Linked DNA regions of Homo sapiens: all the other regions are linked to region 2. The links are contacts of gene promoters, found by promoter capture Hi-C in human tissues and cell types (Jung and others, 2019). All regions are on one chromosome and are shown on one strand. Each heading gives the region's core, a stretch centred on a gene start or on the middle of the fragment in contact. The rest is flanking DNA. Distances are from core to core; before and after follow the strand shown.

The links. Contacts are between HindIII fragments. The study calls those that stand out against the background at their distance.
Region 1: a contact is called between a fragment that was not itself captured here and the fragment with the promoter of CACHD1 in region 2, in 1 of the 25 tissues and cell types used here (bladder).
Region 3: a contact is called between a fragment that was not itself captured here and the fragment with the promoter of CACHD1 in region 2, in 1 of the 25 tissues and cell types used here (aorta).
Region 4: a contact is called between a fragment that was not itself captured here and the fragment with the promoter of CACHD1 in region 2, in 1 of the 25 tissues and cell types used here (bladder).

The regions. Positions count from the first base shown.
Region 1 is chr1:64,752,621-64,755,320 of GRCh38, reverse strand. All of the region lies in intron 1 of RAVER2 (ribonucleoprotein, PTB binding 2), which reads right to left. Among named protein-coding and RNA genes, the nearest start is that of RAVER2, 8.9 kb to the right of the region's middle. The HindIII fragment of the contact is 3,115 bases long and covers 1-2,700 here.
Region 2 is chr1:64,468,831-64,471,735 of GRCh38, reverse strand. It overlaps CACHD1 (cache domain containing 1), which reads right to left and starts at 1,607. Exons shown (of 27, transcript NM_020925.4): 1 at 794-1,607. The coding sequence starts at 991. It overlaps LOC107984966 (a long non-coding RNA gene), which reads left to right and starts at 1,711. Exons shown (of 2, transcript XR_001738100.2): 1 at 1,711-2,550. RefSeq lists a silencer at 1,278-1,397. The HindIII fragment of the contact is 8,534 bases long and covers 1-2,905 here.
Region 3 is chr1:64,734,683-64,737,382 of GRCh38, reverse strand. No RefSeq gene overlaps it. Among named protein-coding and RNA genes, the nearest start is that of RAVER2, 9.0 kb to the left of the region's middle. The HindIII fragment of the contact is 4,782 bases long and covers 1-2,700 here.
Region 4 is chr1:64,839,441-64,842,140 of GRCh38, reverse strand. JAK1 (Janus kinase 1) reads left to right here. Exons shown (of 25, transcript NM_002227.4): 18 at 540-690; 19 at 802-896; 20 at 2,346-2,538. Among named protein-coding and RNA genes, the nearest start is that of RAVER2, 96 kb to the right of the region's middle. The HindIII fragment of the contact is 3,854 bases long and covers 1-2,700 here.

The DNA of each region.
Region 1 (2,700 bases), core at 124-2,623, 280 kb before region 2:
CATAAAATTAAGCTCCAAATACCTAGAAGACAAGTTTAGGGGCTCACAATGAGTTGCACCCCTAAAATCTAACAAAAGAGAAACTTATTTTCTTACTAAGAAATCAGGATACTTATTGTGAAGACATTAAACAGAATGGATAATATTCTTGATTTGTTTTAAAGAAAAACATTCTTTGTATCAATGTTTGACTTTTAATAAATGTTAAGGAGGAAATATTACATTGTAACTTCTTGAAAACCTCTTTAAAAATTTACTTTGTTGAGCATCCACTCTGGGCCAGGCACAGAACCTAAAATGTCAGTTGTGGGCTGCTGAGTGACTAGAGAGCAATAAGCTTTTGCATCAAACATGAAGTCGCATGGTTGATTTGTTTAAAAAGAAAATTATTGAGCCTGATTTATATTCTTGCCCAGATAAAGGATCACTACCCAAACCCTCATGCATAAACGTGGCCTACAGAAGTTTCTGATGAAAACTCTACTGAAGCAACAGCTTTGGATCTGCCCAAATGGTCCCTACTCAGGTAAAGTCCCAAAGACATGACTAAAATTTTGTTGACCTGCAACAGCACTTTTCAACCTAGGGTCTACAATCCCCTAATGAAATCAGGGATAAGCTATAAGAGATCCATACCCCCTTGAAATAATATGCAAATTTTGTGTGCTTATGAATATTAGCACTTTCTTGGAGGGTTTACAGCTTTCAACAGACTCTTAAGCCATAAACAGTTGACTGATTGAATAATTATAAGTGAATGGAGAGAGTTCCCTGCCAAAAAAGCTAACAGAGTGGTACATTGCAAAATTTATTAACAAATCAATCCTGAGAGTGTGCCGGGGGTCAGACGTCTCAATGGAAATATAGCATTTTAGAACAAGGTAGGTGGGTAGTCCGCTTCTTTTACATTTCTCTTCAAACAATGTGTCAGTTTCTAGGTTACAGGTTGAGGATACAAAGGTAAACACAACATGATCCTTGCCCTTTGAAACACTAACAATATAGCTGCATAGAGAGGAATTATAATACAATGGGAGATAAGGATATAAGCTTTGGAATCAAACAGAATTGGTTCTCCACTCTACCACCAATTAGCTGAATGATCTTGGGCAAATTGTTTGACATTAATTTTGCATCTTTGTTTCTCTAGCAATCAAATGGGAATAAGAAATTCCAATCTTATAGTCTTAAAATGAGGATTAAATATAATATTAAACAACTCTAAGTATGGTGCCTGGCAATGGTAGGCCCCCAAAAAACAAAGGTTATTATTATTATAGACATCCAGAGGAAAGAGAAATTTGTTCTGGCTGGGGATTACAGGGAGATCTCAACTAGACTACCATACTCAATTTTGGGTACCATATTTTAAAAGATACAATGACAAAGTGGTAATGATGTGTATTCAGAGAAAAATAAATGAGATGGCGAGGAAACTTGGAATCATGTCCTAAAAACTAGTCATTTGAAGGAATTTAAGTTATAAGTTAAAAATGAGAGGCCGGGCACGGTGGCTCACGCCTGTAATCCCAGCACTTTGGGAGGCCGAGGTGGGCAGATCACAAGGTCAGGAGTTTGAGACCAGCCTGACCAACATGGTGAAACCCTGTCTCTACTAAAAATACAAAAATTAGCCAGGTGTGGTGGCGGGCGCCTGTAATCCCAGCTACTCGGGAGGCTGAGGCATGAGAATCACTTGAAACTGGGAGGCGGAGGTTACAGTTGCAGTGAGCCGAGATCACTCCAGCCTGGGCAACAGAGTGAGACTCCGTTTCCAAAAAAAAAAAAAAAAAAAAAGAATTCTATACATTGCCAGAGGGTAGACGTTGGATCAAGACTTCAAGTGAATACATTGTATATATTACACATAAATAAGACCTTTATAACAAAGAAAGCTGTCTGAAGATGGAATAGGATACCTTATTTGTGGGGATTTCTTTGAAACAAAAATATTTTTTTTAAAAAAAGCCAGACATGGTGGCTTACACCTATAATCCCAACAGTTTGGGAGGCCAAGCAGGGCAGATTGGTTGAGCCTAGGAGTTTGGGACCAGCCTGAGCAACATGGCAAAATCCCCTCTCTAGAAAAAAATTCAAAATATTAGCCAGCATGGTTATATGCATCTGTGGTCCCAGATACTCAGGAGACTGAGGTAGAAGGATTGCTTGAGCGAGGAAGGTCGAGGCTGCAGTGAGGCATGATTGTGCCACTGTACTCCAACCTGTTAATCTGGGATACTATTGGTTGGTAGTAACAAAAGATCCAACTTGAAATAAGTGAAACAATAAAAGGGATTTAGTGGCTTGCATATATATGAAGTCCAGAGGCAGGTTAAGCTTCAGATATAGTTCGATCAGGGCTCCAGCTCAGCTTCTCTACATTTCCCCTCCAAGGTCAGTCCTCCTTTGCATGTCTGCTCCCTTAATGACTGTCAGCTGCAGCCAGAGCCATATGTCTCTGCATTCATATCCAGCAGAGAGAAAGAGATTCACTTACTTTAACAACCAAACACAAGTCCTAAGTTTGTCTGCTAAGCCAGGCTGAAATAATCACTATGACCAAGGGGCTATCATGTATTGATGGGCTTTGGTCCAGGTTATTGCCCGTCTTTAACCAATCCCTCTCGAAAAAGGGAAGAACTGTGTTCTTTGGTTTATGTCACCCCTACAGATGGGGATAGAGATGAAATCCACCCAAAT
Region 2 (2,905 bases), core at 358-2,857:
TTATTCACTTTGCTCCCTTTTTCTTCGACCCAAAAAGGCACACACGAAACAAAAATCATACAGCAGACAGCACGCAAACTACAGCAGGATATGCGGAAAGCAACAAAAAGAGTCCCCCAGCAGGATTAGAGTCGGGAGTCTACCCAGAATCTACCAGGCCAGCCCCTCCCCCCATGCTCCCGGGAGGGGAAAGGAGCGCGGAGCCCACTCGGAGGGCCGCTCTCCGCCGGGACCTAGGTGTCCCCGGGGCAGCTGCGTACTCTGCGGCGCCTTCCCTCCCGGCGCCCATTGGTGCGCCTCGGTAGGGAGGACGCGAGGACGCGAGGACGCGGTCAAGGGGGTGGGGTGGGGACTTCGGAAAATCGTCCGAGCCAGACGGGGCTGGCTGCTCTGGGATGGGGACACAAAGGGGGAGTTTGCAGGCGTGGCAGGGTGAAAACAAGCCTACATGGGAAATGTGTGCAAATTAGAGAAGACGTGCGAGGAAACTGGAGAATCCTTGACGAGATGAAGGCGCTGGTACTCAGAAGAGGGGGGCTGTGCAGGGTCAAGTGGGTTCCGTGCAGAGGGCAGGGGATTCTCCAGAGAAGGGCAGGGGTAGACGAATGCATGGAAGAAGAGTTGGTGTATTGTCAGGGGGTCTGTGCAGAGGACAGAGGGGTCCGACGGGAAGCCGGGCTCTATGTATGCAAGGAGCCGATGCACACAGTCCAGGGGACTTGTACCGGGAGTGGGATGGGAGTTTGAGCAAAGGAGAAAGGCGGGATGTCTGGCCAGCTCGGGGGCCACTTACCTGCATGGTGACGACCCCCAGCTCCTCGGCCGCCAGCCTCCGCATCTGGCTCGCCAGCACTTGCGCCTCGTCCAGGATGGAGAAGTCGGCTTCGGCCCCGGCGCCCAGGAGCCAGCACGCGACCAGGCAGAGCAGCCAGAGGGGCGGCCGCCGCGCCCGGGCCACGGCCGTCTCCTCTTCCTCCGGCTGGCGGGCCATGCTGCCTCCCCCCACTCCCCGCCGACGGGCTCCGGGCGCGGGGAAGCGGGCCGCGGGAGGTGCCCCCCGCAAAAGCGCGGCGCACCCCGCAAAAGTTTCTTCCTCTGTTGCAGGCTCTGCTCCGCGCCGCGGTGGCGAAGGCTCCCAAACTTAGGGGGCGCCCGGCTACAGCGCGGGAGCGCGGGCGGCCACCATCGCGGGGCTCCGCGGCGGTGGGGGTAGGAGGCGGCCGCCCGAGCGGTCCCCGGAGCCCGGCGCCCACACGGGCCCCGCGGCGCAGAGGGCGTCTCCGAGAGCAGGGGCGCCCGCAGGCCGGGGTGCGCGGGCCCCGGGGCTGACAGTCGGAATCGGAGTCGGAGTCGGAGCCCGAGCCGAGCCGCGCGGCTCTCGCTTCCTGCGAGTCCCAGCGCAGCGAGCAGGCGGCGGCGAGGACTGACGGCGGCCCCCGGGGAAGAGGAGCGGCGGCCGGGCTGCGAGACTGGGGCAGCCACCCGAGCGAGGAGGGAAAGGGGAGGCTTCACAAACCCACACAACTGAAAGAAAGAAAGCAAGCGGTGGGGAAAGGGAGGCGTCTGGTGCCACCACGCTGCGCTCCGGCTCTGTGCACTTCCCGGCTGGGCCGCCGCGGCGGCTGCGGTGATTTATGGAACCAGCAAGAGAGGCGGGGAAATTCCCCCGGTTGCCCCTCCTCTCTCTCCCTGGCTCCCGCCTCAGAACCTGCCCCCCGGGACGCCGGGGGCCGGGGGACCAGCCTCTCTCTCTGCTCGGGGACCGGCCCAGCCCGGGCAGGGGAGCCCACGGACCTTCCCGTGGCTGGAGACGGAGACCCCCGCCAGCGCTCCCCGCCTCCGTCCGCGCCAGGGAGCCCACCCGGCCCAGGTTCCAGCCATCGAAAAGTCCTTTAAGTTCTAGGACGCTGGCTGTCTGCCTGGCAGCGGTTGGGGAAGAAGGGGACTGCCATGTGTAGGTCCACTCCCTCTCCTTGATGTTATTCATCACAATGGCTAGCTAGCGTTCCACCCACAGATTTCTGTTGCAACCAGCCACCGTGTGCCCGGCACTGGGCTCGGGGGTGTGCACATTATCCTTTAATCTCCGCGACATGCCATAGGAGGTACGTATCTTTATCCCAATTTTTTAGGTAACAAAGACTGAGGCTTAGAGAGGTGGAATAAATTGCCAGAGGTCACCCAGGGGATAAGAAACAAATCCAGAGTTTAAGCACAAGTCTTACTCCAAGGCTATTGCTCCTAAATACGATACAGTTCTCTCTGTCTCTCTTTGGAAATGAACCATCTGATCCCATCAAAAGCAAGAAAAAAGAAAAAGAACGACTGAACCGGAGTCCACCGCGCACACACCTGTTCTCCCAAGCATGGAGAGGCAAGGTTAACCTTCCTGTTTGTCCCTGACTACTGGCTCAGGCTCGCTGAGAAATCACCTGTTGGAAGCACCTGGAACAAGTCAACCTGCTGTGTGTGGAGAACAGCCACTCTCCCTTCCAAGCCCTGTGTGGTTGCTGCTTGCAGGTTCCTGGAGAACAGAGCCAACACTGGAAGGTTAAAGGACTAGTCCAGGGTTACCTAGCAGAGGTGGTAGCAGGATTAGAACCTGGATTTAGGACTCTTTTCATTTTACAGCAAAACCTTCTGTTTTACATCTTTGACTATATTGTATTAAAAAGTCATCTTCTCTTGTAAGCTCTCCCTGGCCCATTTTTACCTCATTGAGATCACTTCTCCATTCTCAACTCCCCTGCTAATTTTTGTATTTTTAGTAGAGACAGGGTTTCGCCATGTTGGCCAGGCTGGTTTCAAACTCCTGACCTCAGGTGATCCACCTGCCTCGGCCTCCCAAAGTGCTGAGATTACAGGCATGAGCCACTGCGCCTAGCCTGTGATGTTTGTTTTACAT
Region 3 (2,700 bases), core at 201-2,700, 270 kb before region 2:
CATGTTACCATACTGAATACTGTAAGCTATTATAACACAATGGTAAGTATTTGTGTATCTAAACATATTTAAACAAGGAGAAAATACAGCAAATATATGATATAAAGGATAAGAAAATGGCATACCTGTATAGGGCACTCGCCATGCATAGAGCTTGCAAGACTGGAAGCTCTGGGTGAGTGAGTGATGGGAGGTGAGTGAATGTGAAGGCCTAGGACATGACTGTACACTGTAGGCTTTATAACTACTGTATACTTAGGCTACACTAATTTTTTTAATTTTCTTTCTTTGATAATAGACTTAGCTTACTATAACTATTTTACTTTATAAACTTTAAAATTGTTTAACCTTTTTACTCTCTTGTAACACACTTAGCTTAAAACAACACATGGTACAGCTATACAAAAAATATTTCTTTATATCCTTATTCTGTAAGCTTTTTTCTATTTAAAATTTATTTATTTATTCTACTTTTTAAGTGTTTTTAAAAACACAAACACACACAACAGCCTAGGCCTCCTCAGGAGCAGAATTATCAATACCGCTGTCTTCTGCCCACACATCTTGTCCCACTGGAAGATCTTCAGGGCAATAACAGGCGTGGAGCTGTCATCTCCTATGACAGCAATGCCTTCTTCTGGAATACCTCCCGAAGGACCTGCCTGGGGCTCTTCTTGAGGAGTATGTTTATTTACAACAGCATCACCACAAACACATGTGTAATGCATTGTATTATGACTGTAGGACAGCTGGGACATCACTAGGTGGTAGGAATTTTTCAGCTCCATTATAATCTTATGGGACCACCTTCCTACATGTGGTTCATTGTTGACTGAAACGTCATTAAGCAGTGCATGACTATAACTGGATTTGGCCATTAGGAAGCTTCTGGTGCCTTTGAATGAGAGCAACTTCAATAAACAAGCGTGTTTATTGAAGGGGAGAGAATAGGGAGAGTGACCTATTAAAAAAAAGTTCAATAAACTTTAAACATTCTAATTTTCTCCAGAAGCAGAAGGAATCATCCTCTGATAGTGGGGAGATTTTAGCAGGACATTAAAATTTGTTGTCTTCATAGGTGATTTACATATATTTAATTCTCACAAGCACTGTTTGGAGTGGGTATTATTATCCCTGCATTATAAACAAGTCTCCTGACATAATGAAGTTAAGAAAACTGCCTAAAGTCATACAGCCAGTATGAAGCAAATTTAGAACTCAAACCCAGGTCTGTTCCCACATTCTCTGCTTTTCTTACTGCTTTCAGATTTAGAGCCACCAAGGGGAATGTGAAAGTATAGATGTGATGATAGTAGTAGTAGTATAAATATTATTATTTATATATAAGTATATAGTAATAGTAACGATGATGAGGAAGATGAATTGATGGTGGTGCTGATGATAACAGAGGAATTAAATTTCTGCTATTCAAAATTTAACTGCAGTCATGGCCTCATATCTAACTTTATGCCATAAAACACAGTGCCTGTGAGTACTTACAACTAAATGATGTTACTTAATACAAATGACTTTTCTTAGTTTAAATTTAGCCACAGAGTGTCACTCATAGACTTTTCACTTGTCATAATCTAAACATACCTTAAAAATATTTTAAGCCCTTACTCTGATACAGATTTACATTTATTTTTATTTGTACAGTTATGGAAGGTATTATAAAAATTATAAATATGCAAACCACGAACATTTCCCTTGAACCTTGAATTGTATGAAATGACACAAAAAGAATTGTTCTCTTGGACATTAAAGTTTAGTTTCTTTTGGCACTTGCTTTCTGAATTGTGGCAGTCTAAGAGAGTAGTGTACTTTCTATCAGAAATGTAATTTATAAAACTGGCAGAATGGAAGCTATAAAATTATAGAAAAAACCATGGAGCAGGCAGCATGAATGTTTGAAAGGTAATAAAGTACAACCCAGCTATCCAGCAGGGAAATAAGTCTTTTTAAATTATAAAAATTTTGTATAGGATGGAGGGACTTACCATTTAAGCATGTGACATTAAAAACCATTTTGTTGAAACTCTTTTAAAATAACACATATTAAGGTGTACATATTTACCTCCTGAAATAGATGATATTCAACTTGAATTGCCCTTTCGTGATGATTCCAGTAATACAGTGATTGCCCTCTGGGTATACTGAGGATTATAGTGTGATTTTTTCGTATATTAAATGGCTCCATAAAGCTATACCCTCTTTATTCTTGTGTCTGCTTTTTATAGATTTTTTTTGTCTCCTTCCTTATCAATGCACATTTCTCATGGCTGTCCATGTACTCACATGAACTCCTTCATGCTTGTTGTAACATTAAACCAGTCCATACACCCATACACTAAACCCACCCACTACAGCCATGCACATGTAAATAAAGGTAGAATTTGCGCATGCCTTTGCTTATTACCTACAATGGGAGCCCCTTTGCAGGCTCCCATCCCATTTTCCAGCTGGCTTCCTGGCCTTGGCTTAATTTACTGCTCCTGCCGCTTAGACTTGATTGTGTAGGTGTACCCTTCAGATCTCCCTTCTAGAGAACACGCCGTCTGAGTGTAGTTGGCCAGCAGCCTCCAGCTAGTGGCTGTACCTACAGATCTGCAGCATTCATACTCAGGCCTCTCTCCCTTCTAGAGAACACGCCGTCTGAGTGTAGTTGGCCAGCAGCCTCCAGCTAGTGGCTGTACCTAC
Region 4 (2,700 bases), core at 60-2,559, 370 kb before region 2:
ATTTAATACTGAGAATGCTTTCCTGTGAGATTAAATCATAATTTTTACAAATTTAATGTAAGAGTTAATTGTTTTGTTTAATTTACTTGACTAATTTTATATTTGGCATTTAAGTTTTCAAATTTCCAGTGTTCTGTCTAATTCTGCAGGAAACATCCTTGTACATAAATATTTGTTCATATCTGATTTATTTCTGAGTCATTCAGTCATTGAAGTTAATGCATCAGAGGGTTTGAAGAATCTGAAGATTTTTGTACATGTTGCCCAATTGTATTCCAGAAAGGCTGCATGCCTTTACTTGAATGAAGCTTTTTGGGACTGGGCTATAGTGCCCAGTCTCCTTGAATTTGGACTATTCAGTATTAGGACTGTGATTTCCCCTTGCAAGAATAAGGCAGCAGTAACAAACACTTACGAAATCTACCTGTAAGTGGAGATGTTGAGAATCGAATGAGGAATTGGCAATTCCACCTGACCTGGGGCTGAGAAGTTTGTAGGTGGTTCCTTTGGTTTCTTCCATGTGCCCCTCTTGTTTACAGAAAGAGAGATTCTATGAAAGCCGGTGCAGGCCAGTGACACCATCATGTAAGGAGCTGGCTGACCTCATGACCCGCTGCATGAACTATGACCCCAATCAGAGGCCTTTCTTCCGAGCCATCATGAGAGACATTAATAAGCTTGAAGAGCAGAGTAAGACCTGCCATGTGCTGCTTTAACCCAGCTTGGGGAGAAACAGGAGCCTGGGTGGCAATCCCTGGCAATCGACTGCCTTTCACTCTGTTTTCTTTTCTCTTCTGTTAGATCCAGATATTGTTTCAGAAAAAAAACCAGCAACTGAAGTGGACCCCACACATTTTGAAAAGCGCTTCCTAAAGAGGATCCGTGACTTGGGAGAGGTAAGTTACACCCGTGCTGCTTGCTGCTGATGGCAGAGCCCTCCGCCATCCACAGCGCCACTCTCTGCACGTACAGCTGCTCTCCATTCTTTTTCATTCTGGGGCCAGGTCCATGAGCGAAAGCACCTTACTGCATTTGGGGGCCACTTTCATCACAAGGGATTGTGTCTTTCTCCATGTGACACACGGCACGGACGGAATGCACGTCCCTGCCTGCATGCACGACTGTGTATGCACACGGGACTCTGGGCAGCTCCCTTGAGAGACTTGAGTTTTCTCTACAGGACAGAAGAGAATGGAAAGAGGGAGAGATGGGGGAGTAGGTATAGATATGGTGGAATAGGAAAATCCTTGCCTCTGACTTTCCCGGGCATATATATCCTGTAAGCTTCTCTCTTTTTCTTTTGCCCCCGAGAGACAGGGTCTCGCTCTGTGTCCCAGGCTGGAGTGAGTGGTGTGATCATAGCTCACTGCAGCCTCAACTTCCCAGGCTCAAGCAATCTTCCTGCCTCAGCCTCCTGAGTAGCTGGAACTACAGGCACACGCCCCCATGCTGGCTAATATTTTTTATTTTTTATTGTAGAAATGGGGTCTTGCTATGTTGACTAGGCTGCTCTCAGACTCCTGGCCTCAAGCAAGGAGGCCTCCCAAAGTGCTGGGATTATAGGCATAAGCCACCATACCCAGCCCTGTAAGGCTCTTTAGAGCAGGGATAGGTTTATTGCACAGAATCCCAAAATAGAGTGTCAGCGTTTCTTTGGACCTTAAATGGGAGTTTCCAAACAGTTAATTGTGACTAGAGAAGCTACTGAGATTTGTGTCTTTATACAGATTTTCTGTAGTCTGGTTAATGAAACAGACTTGATACATCTCCAGGATCTGCTGTGTGCCAGCCACTGTGCCAGGCATTGTCAGAAGCATGGCATCCTTAGTTCCCCCCACCGTCCCCGAGGCCAGTTTCTGTATGCAGCGAGTGCATCAGGAGCCAGCTCCGATTTGGGGACTTGGCCACCACTGTCGCTGTCAGGTGGCTTGGCTGGAACCTGATCTCACGTCTTCTAAAGACTCCTCATGCATTTGCTCTTTTCAGCCATGCTGTGGGGCCTGTCCTGTAACGTGAGCCCAGGGCTTTTAGAGAACGGCAGTTGTCCTGCAGGCCCAGAAATAACCTTCATTTCCTGTGGTCATAGAAATTGGGATTGATGAGTTGGTTCATCGTCACCTGCTACTTTGTCTTGGCTCAGTAACTGAGGGGACAGTTTGTGAGGCCAAGAGAGCGAGGGGGCTGTAGTGAGCAAGTACAGTCCAGGTGAGAGGCTTCTGCCTGCAAGGCCAGACAGCGAGAACCCCTGGCCCTCAGGGGAACGGCTGTGAGGAGCAAGACTTCTGTGTGTTCCGTGGCCTACGATGGGGCTTCCCTGATAACAGCACATGCATCTTTCCCTCCAGGGCCACTTTGGGAAGGTTGAGCTCTGCAGGTATGACCCCGAAGGGGACAATACAGGGGAGCAGGTGGCTGTTAAATCTCTGAAGCCTGAGAGTGGAGGTAACCACATAGCTGATCTGAAAAAGGAAATCGAGATCTTAAGGAACCTCTATCATGAGAACATTGTGAAGTACAAAGGAATCTGCACAGAAGACGGTATGTTATGCAAGGCTGGGGTCCGGTTTAAAGATTTGGTGACTGTCTAGGGTCATAAAGGCCAGTGCAAAACAGGCACTCCGTGGCCTTACCTGGGCGTCTGACATGCTAGCTGGTGGTTCCCACACACTCTCAAGGCTTCCAAGTCATATGTCAAATCCC